Linked DNA regions of Homo sapiens: all the other regions are linked to region 1. The links are contacts of gene promoters, found by promoter capture Hi-C in human tissues and cell types (Jung and others, 2019). All regions are on one chromosome and are shown on one strand. The core of a region is centred on a gene start or on the middle of the fragment in contact, and the rest is flanking DNA. Distances in the headings are between cores, read along the strand shown.

What was found. Contacts are between HindIII fragments. The study calls those that stand out against the background at their distance.
Region 2: the fragment with the promoter of RNF141 here is called in contact with the fragment with the promoter of WEE1 in region 1 in 1 of the 25 tissues and cell types used here (IMR-90 fibroblasts).
Region 3: a fragment that was not itself captured here is called in contact with the fragment with the promoter of WEE1 in region 1 in 1 of the 25 tissues and cell types used here (stomach).

The regions. Positions count from the first base shown.
Region 1 is chr11:9,571,116-9,575,520 of GRCh38, forward strand. WEE1 (WEE1 G2 checkpoint kinase) reads left to right here and starts at 2,555. Exons shown (of 11, transcript NM_003390.4): 1 at 2,555-3,394. The coding sequence starts at 2,819. RefSeq lists an enhancer at 1,781-2,633 and silencers at 2,208-2,557, 2,578-2,787, 3,078-3,177. The HindIII fragment of the contact is 20,198 bases long and covers 1-4,405 here.
Region 2 is chr11:10,538,872-10,543,276 of GRCh38, forward strand. RNF141 (ring finger protein 141) reads right to left here and starts at 2,316. Exons shown (of 6, transcript NM_016422.4): 1 at 2,251-2,316. It overlaps IRAG1-AS1 (IRAG1 antisense RNA 1), which reads left to right and starts at 2,365. Exons shown (of 4, transcript NR_046375.1): 1 at 2,365-2,671. RefSeq lists an enhancer at 2,392-2,501. The HindIII fragment of the contact is 8,088 bases long and covers 1-4,405 here.
Region 3 is chr11:10,285,041-10,289,445 of GRCh38, forward strand. All of the region lies in intron 1 of SBF2 (SET binding factor 2), which reads right to left. Among named protein-coding and RNA genes, the nearest start is that of SBF2, 7.0 kb to the right of the region's middle. The HindIII fragment of the contact is 4,243 bases long and covers 1-4,049 here.

The DNA of each region.
Region 1 (4,405 bases), core at 1,305-3,804:
TCATGCCTGTAATTCCAGCACTTTGGGAGACGGAGACGGGCAGATTGCTTGAGCCCAGGAGTTCTAGACCAGCCTGGGCAACATGGTGAAACAGAGTCTCTACTAAAAATGCAAATATTAGCTGGGCGTGGTAGCACACATCATTAGTCCCAGCTATTTGGGAGGGTGAGGTGGGAGGATCTCTTGAGCCTGGGGAGATCGAGGCTACAGAGCCGTGATTGCACCACTGTACTCCACTTTGAGACAGGGTGGACAGAGTGAGACCCTGTCTCGAAAAATAAAAATTTAAAAAAAAGGAGTGGCAGGAGGGGAAGTGTTGGAGCAAGGGTTCTGAAAATCACTCCTTGGCTTTGGCCACTGTGGATCATTGACTAACTCTCCTTATACAAGTCTAGAATTCTTGTCCTCCAAGAGCTTAAAATTAAGTTTGCATGACCATATAAAAAACACATTTATACACCAGTTAGCAAATGTTAGGAGAAAAGACAGCTGTTGATCCTTCACTGTGTCTTCAGTTGTGTGATCTCAGGAAATTCCCGATTTGATGTGTTAAGTACTACCGTGTGTTTCAAGAAAAATTCAGCTTGAGTTTATTTAGCCTTTGAAAAGCATTAGAACAACATATATGACAAAGTGTTAATATGCATAAAGTGCTAACAATAAGAAAAATAGGCAATAGAGATAAATGTAAATTATCATTAAACCCATGACAACTGTTCAACAATATGAATCAAAACAACAAAACCACATCAACGAACATCCACTGATGTCCTGAATTCACAGAGTGTGCTCTAATCCACTGCTAGTGAGAATGTATTGTGTTTCTGGAGGGGGAGTTTGCCAGTTTATATCCTTTGACTGAGGAATTCTAACTCCAGGGAGGTATCCAAAAGAGTATTTTAAAAAGGCCAGGCGCGGTGGCTCACGCCTGTAATCCTAGCACTTTGGGAGGCCGAGGCGGGCAGATCACCTGAGGTCAGGAGTTTGAGACCAGCCTGCCAACATGGTGAAACTCCGTATTTTGCATTTTGTAAAAATACAAAAATTGGCCAGGCCTGGTATGTGCTTGTAATACCAGCTACCCGGGAGACAGGAGAATCGCTGGAACCCGAGAACCCGGGAGGTGGGGGCTGCAGTGAGCCGAGATCGCGCCACTGCACTCCAGCCTGGGGCGACAGAGCGAGACTCCGTGTCGAAAAAAACCAAACCAAACAAAAAACATGGAGAAGGAAGCATATACACCACGGGGTTGTTTACAACAGAAAACTGGAAGAGGCCGGGAGCGGTGGTTCACGTCTGTAATTCCAGCACTTTGAGAGGCCGAGGCGGGCGGATCACTTGAGATCAGGAGTTGGAGACCAGCCTGGCCAACATTGGGAAGTTCGTCTCTACTAAAAATACAAAAATTAGCCAGGTGTGGTGGCAGCCGCCTGTAATCCCAGCTACTCGGGTGGCTGAGGCATGAGAATCGCTTGAACTCTAAAGGCGGAGGTTGCAGGTTGTAGTGAGCCGAGATCGTGCCACTGCACTCCAGCCTGGGTGACAGAGCAAGACCCCGTCTCAGAAAAAAAAAAAAAAATAAATAAACAAAGAAAGAAAAAAGAAAACTGGAAGAAACGTGTAAGTGCATTAAGGGACAGATTAAATCAGTTTAACGAAGCACTAGGGAAATTTTTTAAAATTGCGTTTGAGTTTGCCGCGAGCCGGGCCAATCGGTTTTGCCAACGCATGCCCACGTGCTGGCGAACAAATGTAAACACGGAGATCGTGTGCCGGGCACTTGGTTTCGTGGTGGGCAACTGTGCTGCTGTTTCTTTTGGCCGCGGACAAGGTCGGCAGAGGTGGACCCCTGCTTGGGAGAGCTCTTCTCGCTGTGCTGACACCCGCCCCTAACAGTCACCCACCCCGGGGAAATAATGGGGCTCGGAGGCCTCCTCCCAGCCAGTGTCCAGCCTAAGCACATCGGCTCCCGCAGTTCAGAAAGGTCCCGAGGCCCGAGTCACCATTTCCGGCTCAGACCTCGACCCTGAACGTGGCTGCCCACTGCCACGCCCACTACGCCCCAGTGGCTCGCCCCAGGGGACGAGGGGCAAGAAGCGGCCTCCGAGGGCAGCGGCCGAAGGCCATTCGGTCCCTGGCTCTTCCCAGCTCGCAGAGACCCGGAGGCGCTGCCCGGCCGCCTGCCCCTCTTCAGATCCCCCAGCACCGGAGGAGCAGCGAGGGGGGTGCGTCCAGGCCGGCTTTCGGGTCGGCTTAGGCGAATCCAGCTCTCTTTTGCCCCTCCCAGAAGGCCCAGCCCCGTCCGGGCGGTGTTCGGGCGGCGCCGGGCCGGGCCCCCCGCCGCCCCAGGCTCGCTCATAGGCCCGGAACACCACAGCCCGCCCAGACTTGGCTGGCGCCGAGCCGGGGGTGGAGCCAGCGGGTTCCCGCCAAAATCGCGTAGCTGGTCCTTCCCCCGCGGGCTACGTCGCGCCCTCCTTTTTTTTTCAAACCCGGAGCTGCACTGGGATTGGTGGACTGGGCACTCACGTGGTTAACGGTCGCGGGAAGCCGCGGAGCCCGAACCTGAGACTGGACCTGAGGAGACCTCAGCCTCGGTGCTCGGGCCGCCCCGCCTCTGCCGGAAAGTCCGCGCCGCCGCTGCCGCCACCGTCCGCAGCCCGAGCGCCCCGGAGCCGCAGGCCGCCGCCGCGCAGAGACGCCGCGGCTGCGACTAGGCGCGCCCAGCCGCACGTGGCGGACCCGCCCCCAGGCCCGCAGTGTCCTGGACCCCGCAGGCCTCCGCTCTCCTGTCCTCGGCCCCGTCCCCAGGGCCGCGATGAGCTTCCTGAGCCGACAGCAGCCGCCGCCACCCCGCCGCGCCGGGGCGGCCTGCACCTTGCGGCAGAAGCTGATCTTCTCGCCCTGCAGCGACTGTGAGGAGGAGGAAGAAGAGGAGGAGGAGGAGGGCAGCGGCCACAGCACCGGGGAGGACTCGGCCTTTCAAGAGCCCGACTCGCCGCTGCCGCCCGCGCGGAGCCCCACGGAGCCCGGGCCCGAGCGCCGCCGCTCGCCCGGGCCGGCCCCCGGCAGCCCCGGCGAGCTGGAGGAGGACCTGTTGCTGCCCGGCGCCTGCCCGGGCGCGGACGAGGCGGGCGGTGGGGCGGAGGGCGACTCGTGGGAGGAGGAGGGCTTCGGCTCCTCGTCGCCGGTCAAGTCGCCGGCGGCCCCCTACTTCCTGGGTAGCTCTTTCTCGCCGGTGCGCTGCGGCGGCCCAGGAGATGCGTCGCCGCGGGGTTGCGGGGCGCGCCGGGCGGGCGAAGGCCGCCGCTCGCCGCGGCCGGACCACCCGGGCACCCCGCCACACAAGACCTTCCGCAAGCTGCGACTCTTCGACACCCCGCACACGCCCAAGGTGAGAGCGGCGGGCGCGGGCACCCGGCGGCCGGGGCCGCGGCGCCGGAGGGGCCAGCGCCGCTGCCTGGGTTCGGTTACAGAAGCGGCCGGCCGCTCCCCCCTCGCTTTCCTGCGCCGCCCCCCAAAGTTGGCAGCCCTTGTGTTTGGCCCTGCCCCGAGGTTGTCCGTTGAGATTATGTAACTGAACAATGGGCCTCGTCTGGAACTTCATCTTACAAAGGGGCCGATCGGCCCGTCCGGGTGGCCAAGGATTTGCCGCCCGTTGAGTCCGGGCCGCCCCGAGCGTGTCAGCCCCGAGTGCGGCACCGATAACGCGGTTCGCGAGGATGCTGGAGGGTGCCGGCCCGGCCACCTGACACTCCCGAGCCATAGGATGCCTTTTAAACGCGGCGATCGGGCCTGTAATTTGGGCGGCGCGGGCAGAAGGAGTTTAAAGAAAAATAATTGTCCCGCCCTGATCGTGTCGTGTCGTGTGGCGTGGATGGGGGAAAGGTCTGGGGCATGCAGGGAGACTACGCTTGGACTTGGGAGTAAAGGCTGGCCTTCCAAGCATTTACAGTCCTACAGACTCATCCTAAGTCCAGGCAGTACTGAGGCCTGTTTCTGGACAAGGTCTTGGCCCAGCATTTGTTTTTATCGTGGGTTTGCGGTGCCCAGAGTTTGGCCGGCCTCCGTGTGATTAGGAACATCCTACCGTAGATAAGGTATCTTAAAGAAGGAGGTGTTCAGCACCTGTGTTTTGAAAGGCCTTCGAGTACTGCGCAGATGACCACTTTTAAAACTGCAGATTTTAAAGCTGATACTTCCAGAGATTAAGACAAGCCTCGCATTTGTAAGGTTAACAGGGAAGATGCACCTTTTAAAGTGAGTTTGTTTTGTTTTCAATGTACTGTTTGTCATCAGCCTAGGCAATCTGTGTGCTTTCGAGCTGTACTGTTTATTGGCCGACTTGCTCAAGGCAAAATCCCTCTGGAAGTGAGGGGAGGAGTCCAGCGGAGGTGGCTATGGA
Region 2 (4,405 bases), core at 1,066-3,565, 970 kb after region 1:
TAGGCCATGCAACAGTGGTATTGCATAGAAACATAATTTGCAAACCACTGGCACAGAATTCAACAAAAGATGAATTTCTGGTCAAGATTTCTCAAAGAACTAGCAGCTCTCATATTATTGTGCCACCTATAACACAGTCATTTTTTGCAAGATAAAAATATGCTTTCAAAAAGCATTTGAAGGATTTTCTAAATAAAGAACTGTTATTTTGAAATGCACAAGATCAAGGATTCCAAAAATGCCACATTCTCTAGTGGGTGGTACATAGTGAATCACTTATTTTTCTAACAAATGAATTGTGGAAGTTCAAATATTCCTTATAAAAATATTAAAATTACATCATGGGTAACTGGCAAAGCAAAAACGAAAAAACTGCTCAAAAACTCCTAAAAATTTAAACCATAATTCATTCATAAAATAACTAAAGCAAAATGGAAAAGGCTGAAAATGCACCAAAATGACTAAATGACAAGTACTGCACTGTAGTATTTTAAAAACCTCTCTGAAACCAGTTCTCCATCAAATTTTGTATCAACCTCACCTAAAAGGATTTAATTGAAATAAACATCAATGATTTTCACTGTCAAGTCAACTTTAACATCAGTAATAAATACCAAGTACTACTGACTGGGTCCCTAAGGATATTATTTACTTTATTACTCATTGTTTACTCAAACTGTAGATCTGTAAACAGATATCAACTTTTTTTTTTCAAGACAAGTTAATATAGATACATAGTGAAATAATTAGGCCAGAGTCACTATAGAGTCCAGAATGCCTGTTCCAGAATCAAAGATCTTGATCAGAAAAAGATACATACATATATATTAGAGAGAGAAGGAGAGAGAAACTACAAAAGGATAGAGTGCCGTACTAGGAGATTAAGAATATGGATTTCTCACAGTAACAGTGTGTTTACTAAATGCATTTCATATTGGAAAAAGCATATTAGACTTGTAAGAATTCTCTCTGGACCTCCCTTGCCTTTTTGGGAAGGAAAGCGTGTTTGTATTTAGATGGGAACCAAGAAGGATCAGGCTACACACATCGAATATAAAGTTCATTTACACCAAATGACAAATATTAATTTTTGAAACATATAGTCATATTCTTGAGAAAAAGTTCTAGAAACTGAAGTCAGGCAATGTGAAAGAAAAGGATAAAAATCCATACTATTTTTGAGCTCTGAATTCAGAAAGCATCACTTCTCAGACGGGTGACTTCGACATGGAGGTGACTAATTTAGGATCGTCGGCCGGTGGCAGCTCATGCCCCCAGACAAAATTCTGAATGGGTAGAGGTCATTTTATAGCAAGAAGAATGGGCAGAAGGGAGTGAAAACGAATAAATTCGTGCTGAAGATGTAAGAATTATAAACAATTGAAAGTGTTCCAGCAGCTTTATATATATGCCAGAGGCAAGAACTGAATTAGCTGGCACCGCTAAATAGGACAGTGTCAGAATATAAAAGGTACACTACCTTTAATAAGGGGCATAGGGATCGATTTCAATAACAATCGTAAATCCACATTTTGTAACGCCGAGACAAATAACTGAAGGAATAATTTCAAAAGCTAACACAGAAGCCTTCTGCTCCTGCTGTGTAATCACTACCTTCTTATTATTAGCAAGAAAACGTTCTTTTCTTAGCCGGGTCTCAAGGTAGCAGCTAGTTTGACAAGGAAAGACCTTTGGGAAGGGTAGCAGCCTAAGCCAATTCATAAGTGTGGGGCTGGCTAAGTAGATCGACGTGGCTATTTCTGAGCTATCGTCCCAGGCAAAAGGTTTCTTATTTGGGTGTCCAGCCCGGCGGAGACCGAGCCCGCGGGCCACCCTAGCGCTCGCTCTGGCTACGCCGCCTCAGCCCCTCCTCAAGCGCACCTGGACATTTAACCAACAGCTAAGTCCGGCGGCCGAATGACTGAGCCGGCGGCAATATTCAAACAACCGTTTTGGGATAGAGAAGGAAAAACTCTCTCCGGGTCCCTCAGAACCACCCCGAGGCGGGACAAGCCACCGCCACCCCGGGCAACTGGAACCCGCCGGGCAGAAGACGGGCGTCAATAGAATGGCCTCCCCAGCCGTCCCCACGCCCCAATCCGAGGCCCGGGGAGGGCGGCGGGGCTAGGCCTGTCTCCCCGCGGAAGCCTGGCTCGGCAGCGGAGGGCCCTCTGGGGTTTCTCTTCCCAGACCCAGAGTCCTGGAGCAGCTAGCAAGGGAAACACGAAAGGACAGCGCCGCGGAGCTCACCCCAGGTTCAAGGCATCGCGCACCCTGCGGCAGCGGCTGCGCTGCCTCAGCCCACAGCTCAGACCTGCGGGTGGCCGCGACTCAGGCCGGGACCCGGTCGCACCTCTGTGACGCAAAGCCCCGCCCCCCGCGCGTTGCCGGGAGACGGCGCCCAACCTTCCTCTGCAGCGCCCCTACCGACCCGCGCTCCGCAGCTCCTGAGGGCTTTCGAGCCCAGATGGTCATCTGAGACGAGAGGTGGCGGCGAAGGAGAGTCTCGCCTGTCACGCTCCCGGAGCAGGGGCTTCATGAGGTGGCCATGGAAACAGCCTGGCAGACTCCCATCTCTCCTGGTGCCATCTCCGGAGCGGAAAGTGGAGCGCCCCGCTGGCGACCAAGGCCGCACTGAGAGCCCTGGTTTGGTCAACAGTTGGGCTCCAAGGTACCACTTCCCAGACCTCCAGCCTCCCCACTGATGATAGATACACAAAGGTCATCTTGTTTCTTTATGAGGCAATGGATTGTGTTCACCTAGCCGAGTTGTTAAGCATAAGAGAATGTATGAAAAGTAATTACAAGGTTCAAAATCCTGAGCTTTGATAAATGATAGATATGATGATGAGCACATGTTAGTGATATTACTGCTCTGCGGGACGTCTGAATCAGTAATTGCTGTCTTTTAAGCATCTGTTGTGTGCCAAATACTGCACTAGGCACTTTACGGGCATTGCTCTTGTTTAAGTCGTCTGGTCAAAGTTGCCTAGACAATAAACAGCAGAGCAAGGATTTTAACCCAGGTACAGCTGACACTGCTGCCTCTATGCTTAGCAGTTAAACTGGTTTTTATGTTTCTTGTTTGTACACCCCTCCTTCACCAGTCACTTGTAGATTCACCTTGTGAAGAGCTAATTCTTCCCTCTAATAATAATACTCTTTGACCATTTACTATATGTCAAACCGTATTTTAAGGACTTTAAAGGTATTAATTCGTTTAATCTTCACAGCAATCCTGTGAGTAGGTATTATTAATACCTTCACTAAGACACAGGCTTAGAAAAGTCGATTAACTTTTCCAAGGTCAAACAACCATTAAGGAGCAGAGCCAGATTCAAACCCAAGCAGACAGAACCCTGAACCTGTGTTTTTAATTCCTGTTTTAAACTGCCTCGGTAGTACGGTAAGACTTCATTAGCGCTAGGTCCATGCCTGTTTGTGCACCATTATTTCCCTGACAGCCAGCATGGTACTTGTTCAATATTTGAACATTTGATGAATATTTGAACACTGGAAAAGGAAAAAGCTTAAAAATGAAGTATAAATAATGATTTAATAAATTCCAAAAGATATCAAATTCAACAAGATTCCATAGTTCAGCCTAATCCGGGCCTGGGAGTTAGAAATATTACTCTGTAAAAATTGCCTTCAATTAAACATTGTATTGGAAGTTCTGGTCAATGAAATAAAAAAAGACAAATATATAAAAGGCATCCAAGTTGGAAAGGAAGTTGTAGCACTGCATTTATTTGCATAAGAAAATTGTGGAATACTACAAAAAAGCTGCTAGAACTCATAAGTGAGTTTACAAAAGTTGCAAGATACAAAATCAAATATACAAAAATCAGTTGTATTTCTATATACTAGCAATGAACAATTAGAAATGGAAAATTTTTAAATATCTCTTATCAGCAAAAAAAAAAAAAAAAAAAAAAGCAGCAAATTTGGGACAAATTTGACCAAAGATGAGAAAGACATGTATACTGAAAACTATAAAATATTATGGAATAGCAAAGACATGGAATCAACCCAGGTGCTTATCAATAGTGGATTGGATAAAGAAAGTGTGGTACATATACGCCATGGAATACTATACAACCACAAAAAGGACTAGATCATATCTTTTGCAGCAACATGAATACAGCTGGAGGCCATTGTCCTAAGCAAAATAATGCAGAAACAGGAAACCAAATACCGCATGTTCTCACTTATAAGTAGGAGCTAAACGTTGAGTACACAGACACAAAGTTGGGAACAATAAACACTGGGGATTCCAAAAGGGTAGAAAAAACTACTATTGGGTACTATGTTCACCACTTGGGTGACCTGGATCATTAGAAGCCTAAACCTCAGCATTGTTCGATATACCCATGTAACAAAACTACACGTGTACCCCCTGAAT
Region 3 (4,405 bases), core at 678-3,177, 710 kb after region 1:
GACTCACGGCTGTAATCCCAGTGCTTTGGGAAGTTCAGGCAAAAGGACTGCTTGAGGCCAGGAGTTCAACACCAGCCTGGGTAACATGGTGAAACCCCATCTCTACAAAAAATAAGAAAATTAGCCAGGCATGGTGGCGTGCACCTGTAGTCCCAGCTACTCGGCAGGCTGAGGTGGGAAGATGAACTGAGCCTGGGAGATCAAGGCTTCAGTAAACTGTGATTGTGCGACTGCCTTCCTGCCTGGTCAACAGAGTGAGACGAAAGGAAAGGAAAAAGAGAAGGGAAGGCAAGAGAAGGAAGAGAGGGGAGAGGGGAGGAAAAAGGGAGGGAGGGACAGACTTTCTAGAATTAGAAAAAAAAAAAATCTCAATAATACTGAGGCAGGAGAATAGGACCTGGTGGCAGGGAACCTAAGGACTTCCTAGAACTAAATCAAACAGAAAAACCCCAACTTTCTACATCCAAGTAAATAATTGTGTAATTTCCCTTCAGCTATGTCAGGAAACATCCTCTTTATTTGCATAGGGTGTACACCAAGTAAATAACTTTGTAACTTCACTTCATCCTCTTCATTTACATAAGGCATACACTGCATAACCAATGGGAATCCTCTAGAGGGTATTTAAACCCCAGAAAATTCTGTAACCAGCACTCTCAAGCTGCTTGCTCAAGCCCATTCCCACCCTGTGGAGTGTACTTTCATTTCAATAAATCTGTAATTTTCTGTCATTGCTTTGTTTGTGCATTTTGTCCAATTCTTTCTTCAAAACACCAAGAACCTGGACACCCTCCACCAATAACAGTAAGAAGTCAAACAACCCAATAAAAAAGAGCACAAATTTGATCAGACACTTTACAAAAAAATACACAAATGGCAACAAGCACCCGAAAAGGTGTTCAGCATTATTAGTCACCAGGAAAACGCAAATTAAAACCACAAATGAGGTATGTTAAGAGAGTAGATCTTTTTTTTGGAGAAAAAAGCCTGTTGCCCAGGCTGGTCTCAAACTCCTGGACTCAAGCAATCCACCCACCTCAGCCTCCCATAGTGATGGGATTACAGGCGTGAGCTACCACGCCCAGCCAAAAGAGATTTTAAATTTCTTCACATAAACACGCACACGCACACACACACACACACACACACACACACGGTAACTATGTGAAGTGATGGATATGTTAATTACCTTGACTGTGGTAATCATTTCACAATGTATACATAAAACATCACGCTGTCCACCATAAATATATATGATTTTTATTTGTAAATTATATCTCAATAAAGCTAGAGGAAGTTTTTGTTCTTTGGTTTTTTTTTTTTTGAGACAGTCTTGCTCTGTCGCCAGGCTGTAGTGCAGTTGTGCGATCTCGGCTCACTGCGATCTCGGCTCACTGCAATCTCTGCCTCCTGAGTTCAAGCCATTCTCCTGCCTCAGCCTCCCACGTAGCTGGGATTACAGGTGCACGCCACCACACTCAGCTAATTTTTGTATTTTTAGGAGAGACGGGGTTTCACCATGTTGGCCAGGATGGTCTCGTTCTCCTGACCTCGTGATCCACCCACCTTGGCCTCCCAAAGTGGTGAGATTATAAGTGTGAGCCACGGCACCCAGCCTGTTTTTGTTTTTTGTTTTTTTGTCTTTTTAGTGAAGGCAAGTTTATTAGAGAAGTTAACAAAAAATGGCTACTCCACAGGCAGAGCAACCAAAAATATTTTTAAGTAATAAATTAAATTTAAAAAGAATAACTGAAACTCTCATACATTGCTAGTGAAAATGTAAAATGGCACAGCCAATTAGAAAAGTTTGTCAGTCTCACACAAATAAGACACTTATGACCTAGCAATTCTTCTCCTACGTATTTACCCAAGAGAAATAAAAACATGAACATGAAAACATTCAAAGATCTGTATGCAAATGTTCAGAACAATTATGTTCACCATAGCCCAAAACTAGAAATTCAAGTGTCCTTCAACTGGTGAATGGATAAATCGTATCATACTAAGCAATAAAAAGGAACAACTGCCAATAAATTCAACATAGATAAATCTCAACTGTATGATCCTAAGTGAAAAAAGTTAGACACAAAAAACTGTATACTATTTATATGACATTCTAGAAAAGACAAAAACATACAGACAGAAAACAGATCAGTGACTGCCAGATGCTAGAAAGGGAACTGACTACAAAGAGGCATGAGAGAACTTTTTGGAAGCATGAAAATGTTCCCTATCTATCTATCTATCTACCTATTTTTAGAAACAGAGTCTCAATCTGTCACTCAGGCTGGAATACAGTAGAGTGATCATGACTCACTGCAGCTTCGAACTCCTAGGTTCAAGCAGTCCTCCCATCTTAGCATCCGAAGTAGCTGGAACTACAGACATGTGTCACCACGCCAGGCTATTTTTTTTTTTCAAAGATGGGGCTCACCATGTGGCACAGGCTGGTCTCAAACTCCTGGTCTAAAGCAATCCTCCAGCCTCAGCCTCCCAAAGCATTGCCATTATAGATATGAGCCACAGCGGCCAGCCCTATATCTATATCTTGATTGCAGTAGTGGCTACACTAATGTATGTATTTGTCAAAACTCACTGAAATGTTCACTTAAAAGAGTAAATTTTATTGCATGTAATTTATACTTTATTAGATATTGTTATGGGATCTTTAGGGTGTCACTTTTCTGGCCAGAAACCTGTGGCTGGTGGCACCTCTGCCTGAGTTTTGCTCAGACCTGCTAGCCTCATTCCCACCCACTCGGCCTTGTAGGCTACACTCAGCTCACGCTACCAGCCTGGATCCCATGCCTCCAAGAAAGACTGGAGTCAGGCGTGGAGTGGTGAGGGGTGTGTAAGCGAGCGTACAGTCTGGCCATTGCCCAGTCAGACATGTCAGCTGCTGCCACAGGGTGGGCAGCTCCAGGTGCTGGCATAAGTGCCAGCTCTCTGCGAGGCTGTGGCTGGACCAGTTGCACCACAAACAGCTTCCCCGGCCGGCACCGGGGAATGTAGTGGCACTCAGAAGCTTGAAGATGCCAGGAACCACAGGGCCCCAAAGAAGGAGTCACAGCCCTAGCTTGGGGAGCTCCCAGGTCTGGGCTCCCAGAAGGGCCACAGCTCTTATCTCCCTTCCTTCACCTGCAACATGGTGAGCAAGGGGCATGTTTCAGCTCTGCTTGTGTTAGAGCTCTTTTACCCTCACCATTCAAGGGTCCCAAGTTCTTGTTCTGTGACCAGGAAGAATGAGGTCCTCAGACAACAAATGGAGGGTGAGCAAGACAAAGAGGAACTTTACTGAGCAATAGAACAGCTCAAAGACCCACAGTGGACAGCTCTTCTCTGTAGCAAGGGTATCCTGATGAGTGTTCAGCTCCTAGCAGAGAGGGTAGCTCCTTTATGCAGGCAGGTCACCCCAGCAAGTATTTTCTCAGCAGTGAGAGTGGCTCCTCTCTGCAGCTGGTCATCCCAACAGGTGTTCAGCTATCAGCAGAGAGGGCAGCTCCTCTCTGCAGCTGGTTGTCCTGCTGTCTGCAGCTCTCAGCAGAGAGGTCCTAGACTAGAATGGGTGGCTCCTCTCTGCAGGCAGATTGTCCCATCATCTCTTCAGCTCTCAGCAGAGAGGAGGCCCTACAGTGGGAAGCTCCTCTCTTTAGGCAGGTTGTCCCATCATCTCTGCATCTATCAGCAGAGAGGGTAACTCCTCTCTGTAACTGGTTGTCCCATCATCTCTCCATCCTCTGCTCTGCTCTGGGCTGAGCCTGCAACTTTTATGGGCCTCAGAGGGGACAAAGTGCACACCAATTGTCCATAGGTGGGCCCAGAAAAGGTACCACAAGTCCTCGCTCTAGTCCATAGGACTGGCAGCTGGGCCCCCAGTCTTCAAGCCCTCCCCGGCCTGAAGGTGGGGCCTCACCAGAGACCTGCCCCCTTCCGCCATCCACGACGCCCAGGCTTCTCGCTTCAAGGGGTACCTGCAGGCCAGCACCAAACCTCCCTCAAACCCCTCCCACGGTGCTTGTCAGGGCCCAAAGTCCAGAGGGGGCTGAGGAGGCAGGGGCCCAGTGTGTCAGCGCTGACCTAAGTGTGTACACACCCGGGGGCGCTGTGACAGCACCCTGGCTTGGCCCCAACCCCGCTCCGAGATTGGAGCAGGCGCCTCCAAGCCTACAAGGGCAGGAGGGATGCCTTCCCTGGCCCCTGAGAGTGCAAAGAGGCCTTGGTCCACAGCCCCAGCTTGGGCAGCTGCAGCTGTGTGGGGTGGGGGGGCCTCCTGCTCGTGGCCCCTTAGAACACAGGGAGAACTGGGTCCACAGCTCTGACTTGGGTGGCTGCAGCACACCCAGGAGGGCGGGGCTGCTGCCTGCTCCAGCCAGGTCCGTGGAGTGTGCAGCCCTAGCCATGCCCC